Linked DNA regions of Homo sapiens: regions 2, 3 and 4 are each linked to region 1. Evidence: promoter capture Hi-C in human tissues and cell types (Jung and others, 2019). All regions are on one chromosome and are shown on one strand. The core of a region is centred on a gene start or on the middle of the fragment in contact, and the rest is flanking DNA. Distances in the headings are between cores, read along the strand shown. Region 1 holds the start of FAM222A (family with sequence similarity 222 member A). Region 2 has its middle 12 kb from the start of C12orf76. Region 3 overlaps MYO1H (myosin IH). Region 4 overlaps KCTD10 (potassium channel tetramerization domain containing 10).

Evidence for each region. Contacts are between HindIII fragments. The study calls those that stand out against the background at their distance.
Region 2: a fragment that was not itself captured here is called in contact with the fragment with the promoter of FAM222A in region 1 in 1 of the 25 tissues and cell types used here (hippocampus).
Region 3: a contact is called between a fragment that was not itself captured here and the fragment with the promoter of FAM222A in region 1, in 1 of the 25 tissues and cell types used here (IMR-90 fibroblasts).
Region 4: a fragment that was not itself captured here is called in contact with the fragment with the promoter of FAM222A in region 1 in 1 of the 25 tissues and cell types used here (thymus).

What each region holds. Positions count from the first base shown.
Region 1 is chr12:109,711,766-109,717,205 of GRCh38, reverse strand. It overlaps FAM222A (family with sequence similarity 222 member A), which reads right to left and starts at 3,381. Exons shown (of 3, transcript NM_032829.3): 1 at 2,309-3,381. RefSeq lists silencers at 3,241-3,290, 3,321-3,650 and an enhancer at 4,356-4,919. The HindIII fragment of the contact is 9,746 bases long and covers 1-5,440 here.
Region 2 is chr12:110,057,434-110,062,873 of GRCh38, reverse strand. It overlaps a transcript of C12orf76 not described here. Among named protein-coding and RNA genes, the nearest start is that of C12orf76, 12 kb to the right of the region's middle. The HindIII fragment of the contact is 4,989 bases long and covers 762-5,440 here.
Region 3 is chr12:109,431,662-109,437,101 of GRCh38, reverse strand. MYO1H (myosin IH) reads right to left here. Exons shown (of 32, transcript NM_001101421.4): 20 at 4,092-4,205; 21 at 1,989-2,065; 22 at 546-614. Among named protein-coding and RNA genes, the nearest start is that of KCTD10, 43 kb to the left of the region's middle. RefSeq lists an enhancer at 2,833-3,337. The HindIII fragment of the contact is 4,306 bases long and covers 18-4,323 here.
Region 4 is chr12:109,449,252-109,454,691 of GRCh38, reverse strand. It overlaps KCTD10 (potassium channel tetramerization domain containing 10), which reads left to right. Exons shown (of 7, transcript NM_031954.5): 7 at 2,879-5,440. The coding sequence ends at 3,097. Among named protein-coding and RNA genes, the nearest start is that of KCTD10, 25 kb to the left of the region's middle. The HindIII fragment of the contact is 3,969 bases long and covers 1,372-5,340 here.

The DNA of each region.
Region 1 (5,440 bases), core at 2,132-4,631:
CCTGTAGGTCATAGGAAGAGAGGATTCAAATCTGCCTTTTGGTGTGGACAAAGCATCTTGGTGGGGCCAGACTCCCCCTCCATGGCTGATAGCCTCTGATGCCTGCAGGGACCCCTGTCCAATAAGTAGGAGTGTCCCCCAAACCCCATGGGAGGAGGTGGTAAGACACAAGGACTCTGGAGCCAGGAGGGCAATTCAGGACCGAACCTCTGCAGCTGCCTGGCTGATCACCTGTAGCCCATCACTTCCTCTGTTTAAGCCTCAGTTTCATTAGCTATAAAATGGGCCACAGCGTATGAGCCACTCCAAGGAGTAACTGAGATCATGTAAAACGCCTGGCATATAGGGAGATGCTGAGAAAGCTGGCACTCCCTCCTGCTCATCGTCTGGCACGCTGAGTGCCAAGCCCAGGGAGATGAGGGAAGGGAACAGAAGGAATTGCCCAATTCTGACAGCCTTTCCCTCTGCCTTGGCTGTGGAAGTGTAAATACTCGGCAGAGGGCCTCCAACTGCCTGTGTTTGTGAATCTCTGGCGCGCACTCCGAGTTTGTTTCTAAACTGGGAAGCTTCGAGAGGCAGCGCAAACAGCCCTTCTGCCCACCTCTCCCGGCTCTCCCCCAATCTGCTGTTGCTCCTCTGTCCTTGGAAGCTTGTGTGTTTAACGACACCATTTCAGCTGGAAATACCATCTCCCTGCCAAGCCCCCAAAAGCAGCTCCACCGATATTTATTGACCTGTTAATCTAGCTAGAGAGCTTGGTAGAAGAGCAGGGAAAATGCTCGCTGCATAGACTGGGGCCTGGCTTCTCCTAATGACCCGAACACACACTTTCTCTGCTCTTACCCCGCCCCACGCTGCTGAGGCAATGACAGTTTTCGAACCTTTTCCTAGAAATGTGATCACAGCAGTTTCACCAGCACCCGACACTGGCAATAATTGCTGGAAGGGACCTAGACGAATCCCAGAGCCAGCAGCAGGATGCTTGCTGGGGGTTCTCTGGGCCTTTGCAGGGAAGCGTGCCAGTACTGGGGTGTGTGTTGGTTGGGGGTGCCCTGACAGAGACACAGTTTATTCAGACCTTGGCACTGATGGGCCTCACTTGCCCGCCATTCACTTAAGCAGCCTCACAATATGCTCGTTGAAATCCTCTTAAACACCAGAAGGAGCAGGGGGCAATCAGGAGTTCCAGGTTGGCCAAGGCCCCTGACCTTGGGGTAGAACAGCATGGGGAGCCCCTGGACTAGGGGTGCAGCAGGCAGCAGCTCCTCTGCACCTTCCTTGGCTGGGGGAGGGGCACCCACATTTTCCCCAGCAGAAGTAGCCTATTGGAGGGCCGGAGGCCCACATCTCTCTGGGGACCCTGGGAACTTCAGCCTGCCAGCTGGGTACATGGTGGGGTTCAGGGAGGTCTCTTCTATAGCATCTCTTTTCAAAACAGAAAGTTGCTCTGTCTGGGAGGCCTGAGCCCCGAGGCACAGGCCAGGCTACATGGGCAAAGCTCTGAACACCTGTCCTTGCGGGGAGGAGCATCAACAGGGACAGCTGGCACTGCCTCCCTCCCCCACCTTATGGGGCGCTAAGGATTTAGGTCAGAGGACTGCAATGGTAGGGGTGGGGGGAGTCCGCCTTCACCCCTCCACTACCCAAAGGCATCCAGCCCCGCCCCTTGTTACCACGACCCCGCCCCCTCCGGCCTTGGGTCAAGGCAAGTGGTGTTGCCACGGCAACCCCAGTGACATCAGAGGCTAAGGTTTGACGTCATGTCGTGCCCCCACTGGGGAACCTACCGTCCCTGCGAGTTATTTGTGGGAACGTGGTTTGAACGAGGGCTCTAAGGTCTAGCCCCATGGGGCACAATTCTCAAACGTGGCCACCTGCGTTTCTGGAACCCCAAATCCCCCTCTGAGGTGATTTCCCTTGAAGATCTCAGAGGCTGCTCGGGAGACCCTCAACGTTTTCCCATCCTGGGTGCCCCCCACCCCCCAGCCCTTCCAAGACACTGGAGTTCCCGGGGAATTTTCGGATGACACAGCCAATACCTTTGTTAGCTTTACGGGTGGGGTGACCTTTCCTCTCTGGCAACCAACCCGCCCAGGGTCCCGCGGAATCCGAATGGGCCCCCCAACCTCCACTCCCATCGGCTGGCCCATCTGAACAAGTTGTGTTTGGAGGGAGGAAAGGGGCGGACAAGGGTTATCTCTGCTTCAGGACCCCCAACAGCCTAGGACCCCTTCTGTCCAATCCTGGCTGCCCGGACGCCAGGGGGTGCCCCCAGCTCCAGCGCAGAACCCCGCCCCGCACAACTCACCGGATCAGCCAGGCCGTCGAAGGGCACCAGGTCTCAGCTACCACGACGCTCCGCTCGACGGGTCGCAGCCATGCAGGAGTGGCAGAGGCTGCCTGACGAAGCCCTCCTTGGGGGTCGATGCCTCTCTCCGGGTGGGAAGGGGCGCTGTCGGTGAGGGCTATCCTGGCGCCGGCCTGCGCCGTCCGAAGTCGGGGGGGAGGGGAGGTCTCCGTTCAGCAGGGGTCACGCCCGCCCCGGACGGGGGCCGCGCGGGCGCTCAGGCGACGCATCTTCGCCGGGGCCCGTGATCGCCACGTCCGGCGGGCGGCGCTGCGCCTCCCCTCGGGGCCCCGCTCAAGGCTGCAGCTCGGCCCGCGCCGCTCCCAGGGCGCCCTCTCCGCCCGCGCTGGGAGCCCGGCGGCCGCGGCCCCTTTCGCCAGCCCCAGCTGCAGCCTGTCTTTGTTGCTTCCTCTCGCTCGCCCGCCCGCCCGCGGCTTGCAGCCCCCGGGTTCGCCCCGAGGTGGAGGGATTGTCTCCTTCGGGGGTTGCACGCACCCGCAGCGGCCCCGGCTCCTCGCCGGACATACACCGGCCCCTGCAGGTTGCAAAGAACAGCGGCGAGAATGCACCGGCCCCTCCTCCTCCTGCTCTGAGCCCCGGGTGTGGGGGGAGGGGAAGCCGGCGAACAGCGGCGGCGGCAGCGGCGGCGGCGGCGGCAGCGGGCGACGCAAGCTCGGATGCAGCCTCGGGGGCCTCGGCGCTGAGAAACAGCCGATCCCAGTGGCGCAGGACGGACACGAGGACGGCCCGGGGGACTGTGCACCGGGTGTGCGAGCTCGCAAGCCGCAGCAGGGGCCGCGCGCGCTGGGCTCTCACGCGCCCATGGCCCCGGGCGGCGCGCGGGGGCTCCCGGGGCCGCAGCCTCGCGCCGTCTGGCGCGCGCCGGCGCCTCGCCTGGTCTCAGGCCCGGGTGCCGCGCGCCGCGCCCCACAGGCGCCGGGCCCGGCTGTCCGCCTCCCCCGGCCGGCGCGCGCAGCCTCTCCGCGGAGCAGCCGGCCAGGCAGTCCTGCCCGCTGCTCCGCTCTGGCCCGACTGACAGGCGCGAGCGCCGGCAGCAGCCCCCGCGTCTCGTCCCCCGCCCGCCCCCCGCGGCCCAGCCCAATCAGCGGCGGCTGAGAGGCGGTTACCAGGGTGACGCGGCACCGCGTCCTGCGAGGGGCGGAGCCGGGGGCCGCCACGCGCGCTTTTCGCGGCAAAATTCAAAGGCCGGCAGGGCGGCTCTCCAACCTCCTCCCCCAAGCAGGGACGAGGCGGAACTTGCCTCGCGAGGACTGCAACTCCCGGCATGCTGCGCGCCGGCGCCGGGTGGAGGGGCCCCGACTGGGGGCGCAGGGCGTGCTGGTTTTTGTAGTCCCACTAGGGGTGGCAAAACCAGTGTCATTTACTGATCACATATTTGGGACAAGGCACTGTATAAGTGCATTATCGGCATTATTTCATTTAATCTTGGCAAAAACCAACCTCATGAGGAATTTGTTAAAAATAACAACTATAGCTAACACTTATGTAGCAAAGTATTTTATCTAATCCTCACAACACCGTGTGAGTGGGTATTACTATCACCCCCATTTTACAGATGAGAAAACTGATACGGTAGGTACTATTATTATACTTCCAACTTACAGAGGAAACTGAGGTAAGGAGATGTGAAGTGACATGGTCCTGGATGTTTTTGTCCTAAGGCTTATTTTTGGCAGCGATGTGTTTTTGGCATCACAGTTGTGATCTGTGGAGCGCTAACTATATAACCCAGCACAGCGCTGAGCAATTTGCAAGCTACACCTTCTAGACGTACCCCACGCCCACAGGAGACAGGCACTAGCCTACTCCCCCACTTAATAGATAGGGAAACTGAGGCATAGTTTCACATCAACCTGGGGTTCAAATATGAATCTATCAAACTATACTGTGCTTTCCCTTTTACTTTTAAAGAAGCTTCCTGGGTTCTCACAGCCCATGGGCGGCCCGTCTAGCAGTCTCATTTACAGATGGGGAAATTGAGTCCTGGGTGGGGCAGTTCCCTCAGTTGCTGTGTGTCCATCACACAGCACTGTAGGAAGCCAGCTTTCCGGGATAATAACAAAGATCCCCACAGAAATGCAGAGCAGCAGTCAGACCCCCCACCCCTCAGGCTATGCCCGTGTGATACCTGGAGTCCCACCGAAACTGGGTGGGATTGCAGCCCTGCCCTTGCTGGTTGTTGGTCTTGGCCATTTACCTTCACGGGTCTGCGCCTCAGTTTCTTGTCTGTGAAATGGGGGGCATCATAATTCCTACCTTACAGCGTAGATTTGAGGGCAAAATGAATTCTTGCATGTAAAGGACTCAAAACACACATTAAGTGCTCAATAAATGCCCTCTGTACTCACCCGGGCTGGAGGGCTTTGGAGACCCTGGGGAGCGTATCCAGCGGACGGGCTGATTATAGACGGGCCCTAGCCTACTTCCAGGAGCCAACCCACCCCGCCGGGAGAGGCGCCCGCGGCGGACCTCCAGGGCCGGCCCAAGTGGGTCACCCGCCGCCTTATCTAGGACAGGAGCTGGCCCTGTTTCAGGCCTCTAAGCGGCTGCTCGGCGCGCTGTTCCCAGCAGCTCCGCTCTATTTCTCCGCGGCCGCCCCCATCTCCTCCCCTTCCCTCCCCAGGCTGAAGGTGGGGGTGGGGATTTACCTGGAAATGTGTTATGCCTCCAGCTGCTTCCCGCTCGGGCCAGCAGCCAGGGCTGCGGGGACGTCAGGGAGGGCGGCCGGGGCGACTGGATGGGTGGACCCAGCGTGTGGACAGGTGGGGAGACCAGACTTCAGCTGAGGACAGGGCGAGGGACAGTAACAAGCAAACCCTGGGAAATGAGAGAGATCGCGAAGAGGAGAAGAAGGCAGCAGTTCGCACCACAGCCTGTCAAAAGTTTGGGATTTTTTTCATTGTAGGTCACCATGACTTCACACCTACTGTGTGTCAGGCATGGGCTCACTGCTATTTATCTCACATAACTCCTTTTACCCTCGCAGAAACCCTATAAGGTATATACGATCACTATGCACATCCTACAGCAGAGGAAGGCCACATGACTTACCCAAGGTCACACAAATGACAG
Region 2 (5,440 bases), core at 2,007-4,506, 350 kb before region 1:
CCCAGGAGTTTGAGACCAGTTGAGAACAGCTGAGCAACAAATTGAGATCCCATCTCTAAAAAAAAAAAAAAAAAAAAAAAAAAAATATTAGCTGGGCATGGTGGTGCACACCTGTAGTTCCAGCTACTGGGGAGGCTGAGGTGGGAGGATCGCTTGATCCTGGGAAGTTGAGGCTGCAGTGAGTCGTGTTTATGCCACTAGACTCCAGCCTAGGCGACAGAGTGAGACCCTGTCTCAAAAAAAAAAAAAATCTCTTTTTTTCTATATTTTTCTCAACTTTATTGAGGTATAACTTACATATCATAAAATCACCCATTTTAAATACACATTTCAATGACTTTTAGTAAATTTACCAAGTTGTTCAACCATTACCGTGATCCAGTTTTAGAACATTTCATCAGCCTAGTAAGAGCCCTCATACCCATTAACAGTCACTCCCCACTCCCACTCTCTCCCCATGGTTGCTCAACCCAGGCAACCATGAATCTACTCTATGCCTCTATAGATTTGTCTTTCCTGGACAATCTTTCTTCTTAAATTCAGCAGAGTAAATTCTGTTGTTTAAAACTGGAAACCCTGCCGAATACAATACTAATATCTTCTTTTTTGGGAGATGGAGTCTCACTCAATCACTCAGGCTGGAGTGGAGTGGCACGATCTTGGCTCACTGCAACCTCTGCTTCCTGGGTTCAAACGATTCTCCTATCTCAGCTTCCTAAGTAGCTGGGATTACAGGCGTGCGCCACCACGCCCAGCTAATTTTTGTAGTTTTAGTAGAGAGGGGGTCTTACCACGTTGGCCAAACTGGTCTCGAACTCCTGACTTCAAATGATCCACCCACCTCGGCCTCCCAAAGTGCTGGGGTTACAGGCATGAGCCACCACGCTGGGCCCTAATATCCTCTTATTACAGAAGAAACAATGACTCAGAAAGGTTAAGTCACTTGTCCAAGGTCGTGTAGCCAGTAAGTGGTAGAGCTGAGATTGAACCTAAGCATCTCACACCATAGTCCATGCTCTCATTAAAGTATGCAGTGTAGGCTGGGAGTGGTGGCTCACACCTGTAATCCCAGCACTTTGGGAGGCTGAGGCGGGTGGATCACGAGGTCAGGAGTTCAAGGCCAGCCTGGCCAAGATGGTGAAACCCCATCTCTACTAAAAACTACAAAAATTAGCTGAGCGTGGGGGCAGATGCCTGTAATCCCAGCTACTCAGGAGGCTGAGGCAGGAGAATCACTTGAACACAGGCAGCAGAGGTTGCGGTGAGCCAAGATCTTGCTGCTGCACTCCAGCCTGGGTGACAGAGTAAGACTCCGTTTCAAGAAAAAAAAAAAAAAAAGTATGCAGTGTGCAGTATAGAGAGTGGAGGGGACAGGGTAAGACTGGAGGAAAGGAGACCATTTAGGAGACCATTGGGTTGTCCAGATAGGAAAGCTGATGGTGACCTGGACTGAGGAGGTAGTAGAGGCAGAGGAGAGAAGTAGATGACTTCGAGCAATATTAGAAAGGTAAAACAGTAGGATTTGGCAACTGAATGGGTGAGGGGGAAAGAGGGAGAGAATGAGTCAAGGAGTGTGCCATGTTTCTGGCTTGGACAACTGATAGGTGCTGGAATAACTTGCTGGGATAGGAAATGCAGGAGAAAGAGCCAATTTGGGGTGGAAGATGAGGTCAGAACTGAAGGCATTGAGTTCGAAGTGTTCATGGAACATATGCATGTAGATGTTGAATAGGTGGTTGGATATATGAATCTGGAGCTGAGATGTAGGTTTCTTTTTTTTTTTTTTTTTTGAGTCAGAGTCTCTGGTCTCCCCCACAGAGCTGGCTCTGCATGAATTACTCTTCCTCTATTGCAATGAGCTAAGGGATATGAGGGCAGTTGTGCGATCTTAGCTCACTGCATCCTCCGCCTCCCGGGCTCAAGTGATTCTCCTGTCTCAGCCTCCTGAGTAGCTGGGATTACAGGTGCCCGCCACCACACCTGGCTAATTTTGTATTTTTAGTAGAGATTGGGTTTCACCATGTTGGGCAGGCTGGTCTTGAACTCCTGGCCTCAGGTGATCCGCCCACCTCAGCCTCCCAAAGTGCTGGGATTTCAGGCATGAACCACTGCGCCTGGCCTGAGATGTAGGTTTCTATATCACCAGCATATAGATGGGAACTAGAACCATGGAAGAAGCTGCAATTCACCAGCAAGAGAAGAAGTAGATGAGAAAGCAAGAGGGCCTAGAACCGACCCCGGAGAAGGGCTAACCTTTAAGGGGTGGGAGTGCTGAAGTCCCCAAAGGATTCTGAGAAGGAGTAGCCACAGAGATCCAATGAAAGTCAGGCAAAGGTGGATTCCTGCAAGCTAAGGGAAGGAGGTGAGGGAGGTGGGGCATGGTCACAGTGTCAACTGGTGCTGAGAGTTCCAGGAAGATCAGCTATGTGGTGTGTCTATTGGATTTAGTGACAATGACGTTGTTGTTTACTTGGCAAGAGAGGCTTTAGAGAAGGGATGGGGGTGGGAGCCAGACTGGAGTGGGCGGAGGAGTGAATGGAGATGCAGAAATGGATATGATGACTCACTCTTTCAGGGGACTTGGCTATGAAGAAGAGAGGCATGGAGTGGTGGTAAGAGAATGTGGGATTGAAGAGGGGGTATTTTGGAGACAGAGTTTCACTCTTGTTGCACAGGCTGGAGTGTAATGGGGTGATCTCGGCTCACCGCAACCTCCGCCTCTGGGGTTCAAGCTATTCTCCTGCCTCAGCTTTCTGAGTAGCTGGGAATACAGGCATGTGCCACCATGCCTGGCTAATTTTGTATTTTTAGTAGAGAAATGATGTTAAGTGCAGATGGAAAGGGGACAGGAGAGAAAGGGAAGTTGATGTGGTAAATGAAAATTATCTTCATCATCTTCCTCACCATCACCAGCAGTAACCACAAGGAAAGCTTGTTCTGCTCTGGGACTGCCCTGTCACTTTTCTTCCTGAGAAAATGAGCCAAAATCTTTCCCCCTGTAACTTTCACCTTTGCTTAGTTTTGCCTTGTGTCCCTCTTCAAATGGCTGCACACTGCTACTATGTCTCTCCTCTTCTTCAAACTCACAGCCTCCATCCTACAGGCCATGTGCTCTCAGCCTGGCGACCAGACCCTCAACTGTCTCAACCAAGTTCACACCGCTTGTTTGTCAAGCCCCTCTTAAGAGGCAGTGTACACACTCTTGCTTTGGTGATGGAAGCATGAAATGGTTCAAGCATTTATGATTTAGGAAAATAAACTCAGATAGAAAATGTGCACACCCTTTGACCCAGAAGTCCTGTATAGACTTAATGCCTTAGGTGTGTGAAGAAGCTTGTGCAGGGATTTCTGGCAACATGAATGTGGGGTGGACAGACAGTGAGCACAGTTGTTAGGAGCATAGCCTGAGTGCATTCTTCCTGAGATCAGGAACAGGACGAGGATGCCCGCTTTCACCGCTGCTGTTCAACATTGTACTGGAAGTTCTAGCCAGAGCAATTAGACAAGAAAAGCAATAAAAGGCATCCAGATGGCAAAGAATGAAGTAAAACTATCTTTAATCACAGATGGCACAATCCCATATATGGAGAATCCCGAAGAATTCACAAGAAAACTATTAGATAGAGCTAATTAACCAATTCAGTAAAGTCGCAAGGAACAAGATCAACACACAAAAATTAATTGTGTGTGTGCATTTTTTTTTACACCAGCAAGGAACATTTGAAAAGGAAATTGGAAAAATAATTCCATTTACCATAGCATTTAAGAGAGCTGAGGCTGTGGAGCCAGATGGCTGCGTTCAGAGCTGGCGCTGCTGTTTACCATGTGACCTTGGACAAGCTTCTCGCTTCATTCATACCACAGTTTGTTCGGCTATTAGGTGGAGGTAATACTAGCACCTTCCTTATAGAGTTGGTTTTTGTTTTCATTTTTTTGGTGGGGGGGAGTAAGAATTGCAAAAGTTAATATATGTCAGCAAAATAGACTTAGAAGAGTGGTTGGCACATGGTAAGGACATATTAGGGTTACCAAAAATTGTTTATAATTGGGAAAATTGAACAAAAGTTACAGTTAAATATCTATCCCAGAGACTGACTGGCAAATTATCACAATGTACCTCTTAGCTTGAGCCATATGGAACTGCCTGTATTCTATAGCTATGGCCTACAAAATGGGCAGTTCTTTCTTTCTTTTCTTTTTTTTGGAGAGAGAGTCTCACTCTGTTGCCCAGGCTGAAGTGCAGTGCAGTGGCATGATCTCGGCTCACTGCAACCTCCGCCTTCCAGGTTCAAGTGATTCTCCTGCCTCAGCCTCCCAAGTAGCTGGGATTACAAGCATGCACCACCACAACTGGATAATTTTTGCATTTTTAGTAGAGACAGGGTTTCCGCCATGTTGGCCAGCCTGGTCTTGAACTCCTGGCCTCAAGTGATCTGCCCGCCTTGGCCTCCCAAAGTGCTGGGATTACAGGCGTGAGGCACCATGACCTGCCAAAATGGGCAGTTTCATATATTCAATCACTAGGATACTCTTTAGCCACTGAAAATGATTGTGTATCATAGATCTATCTTTATCACAGATATCTTTACTGTCATAGAAAGAATTAATAACATATTATTGAGTAAAAATAGCAAGTTACAAAACAGCCTGCAGCCTGTAGTGTGGCCACGTTTGTAACATCAGTATATCTGTTTGTGTGTCTAGGTGTGGACATAAAGAGATATCTAGAAGACACTCAAAAGTTTCAACAATGATTGCCTGAGTGATTTGTGCTGGGATCTTCTTTTTTTTTTTTTTTTTTTTTTTTTGAGACCGAGTCTCTCTCTGTTGCTCAGGCTGGAGTTTGCAATGGCGTGATCTTGGCTCACTGCAATCCCCGCCTCATGGGTTCAAATGATTCTCCCACCTCAGCCTCCCGAGTAGCTGGGATTATAGGCGCCCACCACTGTGCCTGGCTAATTTTTGTATTTTTAGTAAAGACGGGGTTTTGCCATGTTGGGCAAGCTGGTCTCAAACTCCTGACCTCGAGTTATCCACCTGCCTTGGCCTCCCAAAGTGCTGGGATTACAGGCGTGAGTCACTGCGCCCAGCTGGGATCTTAATTTATATTTTTTCTTTTTAGCCCTTGATTTTTACCCTGTTAGACTGACTTTAGGAATCTAACCCCCAAAAGTGGAAAGGAATACATTAGTGTTGTTGAAAGCCACTAAGTTAGTGGTAATTTGTTACAGAAACTAATATAATTGGGATTTAACTTGCCTTGGGGGTGCTGGCTCTCCCCCATTTTCTTCTCAGAGCATCTCTTGGGTCCTCAACCCTTGCTGAGCCCCCACCATGGCCTAGAGGACCAGGGATGGACTTGATTAGATTCTCCTCTTGGGATTTTAAAAAAGAGAAGCAGAGGCTGCATGCTCAGCTTCTCCGTGCCGCACTGCAGGCA
Region 3 (5,440 bases), core at 921-3,420, 280 kb after region 1:
ACAGGGTCTCACTTTGTCACCCAGGCTGGAGTGCAGTGGTTCCATCGTGGCTCACTGCAACCTCCACCTCCTGGGCTCAAACAGTCCTCCTGCATCAGCCCTCCAAGTAGCTGGGACTACAGGCATTAACCACCATGCCTAGCTAATTTTTGGGTGTTTTGTTTTGTTTTGTTTTGGTAGAGACAGGGTTTCACCATGCTGCCAAGGCTGGTCTTGAACTCTTGAGCTCAAGTAATCCACGCGCCTCAGCCTCCCAAAGTGCTAGGATTATAGGTATGAGCCACCGCGACTGGCCCACAAAATTATTCTTTAAATGTACACATATTGTAGGACTAATAAAACATGCCTGTGGAACACATACAGGCCACTATGTTATAATCTCCAATCAATAAGGTAAAAATGAGAAGAGGCCCCAGAACTGGACCCCAAGATAGCACCACACAAGGTTTTAAGGATGAGCAGGGGGAGAGAACTCACAAATGTGCCCCCAGGTGCCAAGCAGATGAGAAAGGGAGCAAACTTATTTGTTTCTATTTAATTCTTACCTGCTTGTCTTTTTTTCACGTATTCTCTCCTTCCTAGGCAGCGTTTGTAAGTGGCTTGGATTCTTGCAACTTAAAATAAAACAGACGTTTTGGTGAAATGGCTTTGCATTTGCGCATCTTTGTGGTTGTGATCTCCAGGGGTGTTTGGGGGCCGATGGAAGGGGGCATCAAAGTCCTGTGGTGTAGTGATGTTTCAGGAAGCTATTTCAGCACTGCAGACCTGAGAGCTGGCTGGTTACATGACGCCTGGCTCCCAGATGCTGCCCGGGAACTGGAGTTTCCTTCCTGCCTTTCCTTTTCCCAGGGCAAGGAACAGACCTAGTGCTACAAGCCCCCCAGTTCCATGTCAGGCATTAGATTTCATTCTCATACGCCACCCCACAAGGCAGGCATCATCAGCATGTTTTATAAATGGGCACGCAGGCTCAGACAGATGGTGAAGACGCTTGCCGGGCAACACAGCTAAGGAGGAGCATGAATCCAGGTCTGATCAGAGAACACTCTCCCTCGGCTTCTACATCCTGCATCCACCCCCTCCACACAGCAATTTAGGTCCTATCAGAGGCCAAGCTCATCAAGAGCCTTGCAGAGCAGCCACATCCTATTCCCCACGAGCTGGTTAGAGATGCTGGCTCAGGCCCCACTGGCCTAACTGTGGCCCTTCAACCAGATCCCCAGCCATTGGTGCCCACTGCTACGGAGGTCAGAAAATGAGACCACCAAGCCTTGAAGCCAGACAGACCCAGGTTCAAACCGCAGCTAGGCTGCTTACTTGCTGTGTAGCCTTCAACAAGTTACCAACACCTCCGTGCCTCAGTTTCCCTGCATAGAAAGCGGAGACGATAGCACCTATGTCACCTCCCTTACAGGTCTGTTCTCAGAACAGAATGAGACCATGGTTTAAAGGACTTAGTGTTCACCTGGCGCACAGCAGGCCCTCAAATGACTCAAGCGTAGTTCTTGACAGACCGGTTACATTTCAAAAGAGACGCTCCCTCCCCCCGCAGTTTTGATTTTTTACTTTTTGCATTTCCCCATCTAACTTTTCTCATTGACCATTCCCAGCAAACACCCAGGCTGCAGGCTTTGAAGCTAAACTTTCCAACATCAGACACGCAGACAAGTGAAGTTTTGTAAACTTTAATTTCAAGGGGCTGGTCTCTCACGGTTTTACACCCTAGTAGTGAACAACAGAATCTGATCCAAACGAGAACTGAAACGGCGGAACAATGTTTATATATCTGCCTGCATCTGTGACTGACCTCCAAGCAGTCATTAAAGCAGAAATTCACAGGGATCTTATCATAATCCCATATCTCGTTCCTAGTTTCCAAAGCGAATGCTTCTAACACTATATCAAACACCCGTGTTTAAGATTTACCCCCAAGCTCCACTTGTTCATTTCATATTCTATTGAAATCGGGACAGAAAAAGAAATCATACCTAGTTGATGTTTACTAAATTCAAAGGCATCTTCGGTAGCAAACAGAGTTCTGGGGAAACGAATGAATATTTTGGTTCTAGAAGTGAAAAGAAATGTTTTTGTTATTAATTGGTCAGTTTACCATCTAGTGGGTTGAACGGTGCCCCCTTCAAAAATTCATTTCCACTCAGAACCTCAGAATACCATCTTATTTGGAAATAGTGTTTGCAGATGTGATTGAGGTAAGGATAGAAATGAGCTCATCCTGGAATAGGGTGGGCCCTAAATCCATTGAGAGTGTCTCTATACACACAGAAAGACACAGGGAGGAGCCCACGTGAGGACGGAGGCAGAGATTGGAGGGACACGGCTACAGCTAAGCAATGCCAGGAGCCACCAGAGCTAAAAGAGGCTCCCGCAGGAATGTGGCCCTGCCAACTCTTGATTTTTGGATTTCTGGCCTCCACAACTAGGAGAGAATAGATTTGTTTTAAATCAGCCACTTTGTGATCATCTGTTACGCAGTCCTAGGAAATGAATAAACCAACGTAACCTGAAGTTGCTTCAAGTTATGTTGCTAGGCTTTAAAGAGTGACGACAAAGAATATGGGTGTTTTTGTTTGTTTTTTGTTTTTGTTTTGAAACAGAGTCTCAGTTTGTTGCCCAGGCTGGAGTGCAGTGGTGCAATCTCGGCTCACTGCAACCCCCATCTCCCAGGTTCAAATGATTCTCGTGCCTCAGACTCCCGAGTAGCTGGGATTACAGGCACCAGCCACCACGCCCAGCCAGACAAATAATGTGGATCTAAGCTTAAAAGAAGATCACGCTGGGCGCGGTGGCTCACGCCTGCAATCCCAGCACTTTGGGAGGCCGAGGCAGGTGAATCACCTGAGGTCAGGAGTTTGAGACCAGCCTGACAAACGCGGTGAAACCCTGTCTCTACTAAAAATACAAAAATTAGCCCATTGTGGTAGTGTGCACCTGTAATCCCAGCTACTCGAGAGGCTAAGGCAGGAGAATCGCTTGAACCCAGGAAGCGGAGGTTACAGTGAGCCGAGATCATGCCACTGCAGCCTGGGTGACAGAGCAAGACTCTGTCTCAAAAAATAAAAAAATAAAAAGAAGATCACAGTAGCCAGCAGAGAGAAGTTACAAATACTGACCTCACATTGCCTGCCCGACCCCAGGCCTGGTGAGGGAAAGTTCCCAGGGCAGCCACTGGGGACAGCAGTGGGTGGTGCCTGGTGATCCCACTCTCCCTTGTCCCTGTTTCAATTTATGGAACAGGGGACAGACGGATCCCACCTCTGACCTCCATGCCCTGCCTCCCTCAGGATGTGCTGAGCCTTGCAGAATCCCCTTGGAGATCTGGACTGACTAAGTAACTGATCCTTGGAACAGGCCCAGAATAGGAGTCTACAGATGGAGAGAGGCCAAGGCGGCCCAGACGACCATGTACAAGTGGGAGTTAGGAGTCAGCAGGGAAAGCCCATGAACAGGATCACAGGCAGAGCTCTCTGGAGTGGGGAAGCCCTGCTGTCGGGGAATAGATCTTCATGCTGAGACACCTTTCCCTGCAACCTCATTAACCCTGACCAAAATGACGCACAAGACGGACTCGGATCTTCCCGATTCATGTCCCTTGAGTTGTGCCTGAAAGCTTTCAATGTGTACGAAAGTCTCTGCTCATGGATAACTACAACTCTACAGTTAAGAGTTCCAGCACACCATTTCTGAGATGCTACAGATGATCTCACATTGTCTAGGTCCCAGTAGCTCCTCTGGCAGGTCATGCGTACATGGGAACAGTGAAAGAATCCAGGCACACGGACGTTAGGTGCCCCCTCTGGTTCCCTCTTTGTTTTGCTAGCAAGGAGGCCCATCTGCTAAATCAGTTTAGTGCGGAAGTTTCCTTTATAACTTCATTTCCTCCCACCGGCAGCACCATAGCTCTTCTAAAGAATTAAGAGCTGCATTTACATCGAGTAGATGAAGCATAAATCTCGCAAATCTCCATAAATCCCTAGGAATCGAGTCTCCAGGCTCTAGATGGATACGGATCAATGCACAAAACCCTTTGATGTCAAGGGAAGAGACCATTTGGTGGTCTTCTGGTCACTTACTTGCCTAACTTGTATTCCTCGGGTTTGTAGCCGATGTACTTGATCAGCCGTTCCACGCCCTCTGCTGGAGGCCCGTGCCAGTGCGGCCAGGTGTCTGGGCATAAGGACTTGTACCTAGGAGAGGAGATGGACATGGAGAAGCTGTGACCGTACCTTCCTCTAGCCCTCCCCCACATCCCCGGCCCCAGAGGCCTGCTGAGCACTGCTGTGGCATGTCGGCCACTCAGTGTATGTAGTAGTCCCATTACACGAACTTTCTCGAATTCAAAGATGGGTACTTTGCAAGAAAGAAAGGAGAGAGAAACTGTTTCAATATAGTAGGGAGTTTGACCTGTCTTTGTAGAACAATGACATCATCAGACGCTCAACCCAGTGACTCAATTCCACTCCTAGGTATCTGTCCAAGAGAAATGAAAAGGTGTCCGAACATTCATACCTGAATGTTCATAGCAGCCATTGGGTGTAGCAGTGCATGGTGCTATGATTCATAATAGCCAAAAGGTGGAAACAACCCAGATGTCCATCGACAGAAAACTGAACAGACAAACAAACATAGTCTAGTACCAGAAGAAAAAGTTCTATGCTTGAGACCGGGTATGGTGCCTCATGCCTGTGATCCCAGCAATTTGGGAGGCCAAGGCAGGAGGATCACTTGAGGCCAGGCATTTGAGACCAGCCTGGGCAGACCCCGTCTCTACTTAAAAAAAGGCCAGGCGCAGGGGCTCAAGCCTGTAATCCCAGCACTTTGGGAGGCCGAGGCGGGCGGATCACAAGGTCAAGAGATCGAGACCATCCTGGCTAACATGGTGAAACCCTGTCTCTACTAAAAATACAAAACAAAATTAGCCAGGCATGGTGGCGGGCACCTGTAGTCCCAGCTACTGGGGAGGCTGAGGAAGGAGAATAGTGTGAACCTGGGAGGCGAAGCTTGCAGTGAGCCGAGATTGCGCCACTGTACTCCAGCCTGGGCGACAGAGCAAGACTCCATCTCAAAAAAAAAAAAAAAAAAAAAAAAAAATTTTTTTTTTAGCCAGGTGTGGCAGTGTGCGGCTGTAGTCCCAGCTACTCAGGAGGCTGAGGCAGGAGGATCGCTTGAGTCCAGGAGGTTGAGGCTTCAGGGAGCACTCCAGCCTGGGTAACAGAGATCCTGTCTCAAGAAAGAGTAGAGAAGAGAAAGAAAGGGTTCCATGCTTGGGAAGTGATGAGGGCTTCCCCCGTCCCCCAGGGGTAATTTTGGCTCCAGTGTTAAGAACCTGATTCCAGCATGCAGTTCCCTTCTACCCTGCAGTCCCTAGAAAGAGAACCGTGATGTCTGTAGTATAATGAAACAACTGAACGCAGAATTCAGA
Region 4 (5,440 bases), core at 2,107-4,606, 260 kb after region 1:
AGTGACACAATCATAGCTCAATGCAGCCTTGAACTCCTGGGCTCAAGTGATCCTCCTGCCTCAGCCTCCTGAGTAGCTGGGTCCACAGGTGCATGCTACTACACCTGGCTCATTTTATTTATTTTTGTAGGGACTGGCTTTCACTATGTTGCCCAGGCTGGTCTCGACCTCCTGGCCTCAAGTGGTCCTTCTACCTTGGCCTCCCAAAGTGTTGGGATTACAGGCATGAGCCACTGCACCCAGCCCATATCACTCTCCTCTCCTGTCTCATCTCCACTCTGTTATTGAGCCCTGCTGGTAAGTTGTGTTTTTGTTTGAGGTTGTTGGTTATTGTATTTGTCAGTTCTCAAGTGCTCATTTGGTTTTTCTGTCTCCTTGCTGAGACTCCCTATGTTTCCATTTGCTCTAAGAGCATTGGCCCTTACTTACTGGAACAGGTTAATAATAGCTGCTGCCAGGTCTTTGTCAGGTAATTCCAAAACCTTGTGTCACCTTGGCGCTAGCATCTGTGAGTTATTTCCCACAGGAGTTGAGAATTTCTTGGTTCTTGTGTATTGAGAAATTTTGATTGTATCCTAAACATTTTGAATATTGTTAAAGGACTCCAGGCCTTGTTTAAATCCTAGGGAGAACATTGATGTTTTTGTTTTAGCAGGCAATTGACCCAGTTGGGCTCAGGCTGCAAGCTCTAACCAGCCTTCTGTAGTTTGTAGTTGCGGTGACAGTTTGATTTTCAAAGCCTTCAAATCTGTCCTAGCTGTGTGCCATGCTGTGGCCCGTCTGTCCTGGGCAGTATCTCTTGCAGCATTCAGTTCTTTCAGTCTGCGTATGCAGTTTAGGGGTAGATCTTGCAGCTGGGTGTGGGTCTAGGAGTTCATATACAACTTCACAGGCTGCTTTCTCAAGCTCCTCTTCTCCGCAGTTCTCTAAGCTTCCCTGGAGTCCCCTTCTCTGATCGGCCAGCCAGAAAGCTGGGGGTTTGGTTATTCCCCCTTTGCCACCCACTTTCTGTAACCATGCCTGTATTTTGGGCCCAGGAGCATGAAGATAGAAAAAGCAACCAGATTCTCCCAATCCTGCTGAGACCACAGCTCTTCTCATCAGAAAAGAAGGTTCCTTCCCTCAGAGTTTTGACTCCTGCAGTCTCTGGTTGCTGCCACAGGAATGCTCAGGTCTGGGTGCAAGAAAATAAAGAAAAGGACTGAGCATGGTGGCTCACACCTGTAATCCCGCACTTTGGGAGGCCAAAGCAGAAGGATTGCTTGAGTCCAGGAGTTTAAGACCAGCCTGGGCAACATAGCAACACCCCTGTCTCTACCAAAAATTTTTTAAAAAATAGCTGGGCATGGTGGTGTGTGCCTGTAGTCTAAACTACTTGGGAGGCTGAGGTGGGAGAATCATTTAAGCCCAGTAGTTCAAGACCAGCCTGGGCAACATAGCAACACACTCATCTCTACAAAAAGTTAGTTGGGCATGGTGATGCATGCCTATAGTCTCAACTACTTGGGGAGGCTGAGGTGGGAGAATCATTTGAGCCTAGGCGTTCAAGGCTGCAGTGAGCTATGATTGTGCCACTGCACTCCAGCCTGGGTGACAGAGCAACACTCCCTCTCAAAACAAAAAAGAGAAAAGAAAGAGGCCCTTGGACTCCCGTCCTGGCTCTGCCCCTAACCAGCTTCACAAACACAAGAACACGCCACTCCTGAACCTGGTCTGTGAATCAAGAAACAGTTGGGATCAGACCATGTGGTCTCTAAATCCCCTTGCTCCTTATTAAGCTCTAAAAATGAGAAGTCTTAAAATTTTAAAGCTTAATTAGCCAGATCCCATATCTTTTAAAAAAAAAGGAAAGAAAACCAGGATTTCCTCCCAGCCTCTCTGCCTGTTAGACTCTGTTGGCCTCCCTGGCCACTAGAGACCTTCTGGAGGTCTTCTGTCCTGGTGCCATTTCAGGGTTTCAGGCTGCATCAGTGCTGGCAGCAGCAAACAGTAAACTCACTGTTGGGCATTACTCCAAATTCTGTTGTTTCCCCCATCTGCCTGCCATGATTTACTTCTGAGTCCACAGTTAGCTGCTGTGTGCATCCCATTCTGGCTTTGTAGTGTCAGTGAGGAAGACGGGGTAGAGTGTGCCTGCTCCATTTTTCCCAGAACCTCCGAATTCCACCCTGAAAGTGGAGTCTAGTCTGATCAAATGTGTGGGACCTGCTTATGTGGCCCTCTTCCTGTTCATCACACCTTAACCCTGAAGGGCAATGAGCAAACACAATGATTTGCCAAACAGCAGAAGGGCTCATGCCCATTTCGTGGGAGTCCCCAGCTGGACCCTGTACAAAAAACTGCTTTAGAGACTGCTTTAAGGTGTGGAAGGACTTCTGTGCAAGGTTGCAGCTCTGTTAGGAGAAGCATATTAGCACTGACCTAAATGGCCATCCAAGTATGGTTAATTGCATTGTCGTATTTATAATTCCTTGATACAGAATGATCTCTAGGTTAAGTTAGGCACAAGAGGAAGACATGTACAACTCTGTGTGGTGGGCCACCTTGTGTGTTTTTTGAAGTGTGTGAATAAATATGTGTATTACACATATTTACATGCACAGAATCTTTGAGAGGGTAAAATGATGAGAAACTGTACCTTTAAGAAGGGAAACTAGGGGCAGGGAGACCTGTTTCTCTGCATCCCCTTGATTTTCTGTGCATTTAGCACCACATGTAAGTGTTGCCATTGAAAATATCAGTTTATTTAAAAATAATACTGGTGGCCTTCAGCAGAATCCCAGGGGCCTGATTTAGCCTGGCGGCCCTGCTTAAAGTCCAGGTGTTGGCAGAGGGGGTGGGCCATAACTTACCTGCCCTGTATACTGTGGGAACACAGGTGGAGTTTCCCGAAGCCCGGATTTATGAGGAGACCCTGAACATTTTGCTGTATGAGGCCCAGGATGGCCGGGGACCTGACAATGCGCTCCTGGAGGCCACAGGCGGGGCGGCGGGGCGCTCCCACCACCTGGACGAGGACGAGGAGCGGGAGCGGATCGAGCGCGTGCGGAGGATCCACATCAAGCGCCCTGATGACCGGGCCCACCTCCACCAGTGAGCAGGCAAGAGACCGAGCCGCCCTCCTCTCACCGCCCCCACTCCCTGCCGTGCTACACCCAGATCCTGTGCAGGCTGCCGGGCCCCTTCTGCTTCCCTTGGAGCCTGGAGATACTTTTGTAACAAGCCAGATGATTATTTTGGTATTGCTTGACAAGGCAAATTGATTGTCTTGACCCAGGCGTATGACCCCTGTCGTTGAACAAGCTGTGTCTAAGATCTCTACTTTTCATGAGAATCTGAGACTCTTTGGAGCCAGGCTTTCTCGGTTCTCAGAGGAAAAGTATGAATGAGTGTGAAGTGTATGTGAGAACTTTTGTTTGCAATATTTATTTTTGTGGGTGTCGACTTCCTATGTGGGCTTTTTGGGTGACACTCCCTTAAGGGTTCAGTTTGACAATTCTGAGAGTTGTCCTGCAGTTGGAGGCCACCAGAGGTATCTGAGCTCCCTGCTTCCTATTTCATAATCCTCCAGCCCCAGCAGGTCCACTCCTGGTTCCTGTGTGTTTGGCCCGGGCACAATCCCCACTGCTTTGCTAGACGTGCTTTCTGCCATGTGGCTTTGGGCCTAGAGCTTGTTGATAATTGCAGCTTGTGGCAGTGGAAATATGGCTGAATGAGCGTCTAAATCGTTGAGACCAGTGCAACTTTGGGTGCAAGGCTTTGTTTAGGGATCAAGCCTTTTGCCACCTTGGGCTGGTCTTTGGCCTGGTGCTCACTGGGACCCCATATGTCTGCGTAGGAGCAGAACTTTCCATGGCAGTAAGTGTCCAGCTCTGTTTCTGGTTCTTTCCCCAACTCCAGCCCCGTCCAGTTGTTCTCCTGATTGACCCGACTCCACTCCAGGAAGGCCATCTGACCCTGTGACAGGCATAGCTCATAAACTACCCCTCCCTGGGATCCCGCTCCTCTTCAGCCTCCTTCCCCATGAAGCTGGGCTAACTTTCTAAGTCATTTTGCTTAGAAATTCAGTGTGGCCCATACCCTTTGTCCTCCCAGCCTGGCATCCAGGCAGGGACACCCTCACACCACCAGCCCCAGGGAGCTTCCCTGCTATAAACACAGACCCCCTTGTCTTTGCCTCTGATTTTTACACAGTGTAGAGTGGCCAGCAGTGAACAGGTTGAGGATGTGCGGGTAGATAGATAACTTTGGGTCTGGTTTGTGTCTGTGTTCATGTTTGTTTAAGGGATATGTGTGACTGTGGGTGGGGACGTGTGCTTGTGGGGCACAGGTGGCGGCCCCTGCTGGAGCCCGGCTGGGCGCAGCGCCTATGTAGGACGGGTGTTCTCAGTGACCTACCTCCCAGGCTCCTCTGCACCTGCAAAGGAACAGGAGTGAGTCGTGACTGACAGGGGTGGTTGAGACTAGACTAGGTAGAGTAGTTACCAGGAGATGTGAATGTGCGTCAGGTGATGGATGGGTTTGTCAAGGGAATCGTTACCGTTTTATACCAAAGGTATTAACATGGGCAGCCTTTGACACATGTATTCCAAAAACGAGTTTATATTTTCAAACGGTTTTTACAGCTTAGACTTTGTACTTACTGCCCTGCCTGTGACAGTTGTATGCCTTCATTTTGTATCCAACAGCAAAGTCTACAATAAAACTTTAAAACAATCATGACTGAATGTCAAAATCGTGTATTGGGCAGATGCTTTTTAAACTGTCGTGTGAGAAACTTTTATATTAGGCCATTTGGATTTTATTAAGTGCTAAGGAAAGAGGGCTTACAAAATGTTTCGTAAATATTTTATACTGTTTAAGTGTTAAACACCAACCCTGTCTTTCTTTTGGGTTGAGCTTTTTTAGAAAGTCGAAGTGAATGTTGGCCAGGAAAATGGAAAAGCCATTGTATAAATTTTTTTTTGAGGCGGAGTCTTGCTCTATTGGCCAGGCTGGAGTGTAGTGGCACCATCTCCACTTACCACAACTTGTGCCTCCTGGGTTCAAGCGATTCTGCTGCCTCAGCCTCCCGAGTAGCTGGGATTGCAGGTACCCATCAGCCCATGCCCAGCTAATTTTGTATTTTTAGTAGAGATGGGGTTTCACCATGTTGGCCAGGCTGGTCTTGAACTCCTGACCCTGTGATCCGACCACCTTGGCCTCCCAAAGTGCTGGGATTACAGGTGTGAGTCACCACACCTGGCTGCATAGTGTTTTAAATGTTTGTGTGAAGAATGAGTTTGTGGAACAATTTGATTTGCTGTGGCCTCTATGCCTAATGAGCTAGTGTTTCTGGCAGCTCTCTCTACCCAACTTTGCACTTGTAGTTTTGAGTCTTTGTCTCTCTGGAATATGAACAGGTTTATAAAACATTCCATGGTGAACAATTCTGTCGGCT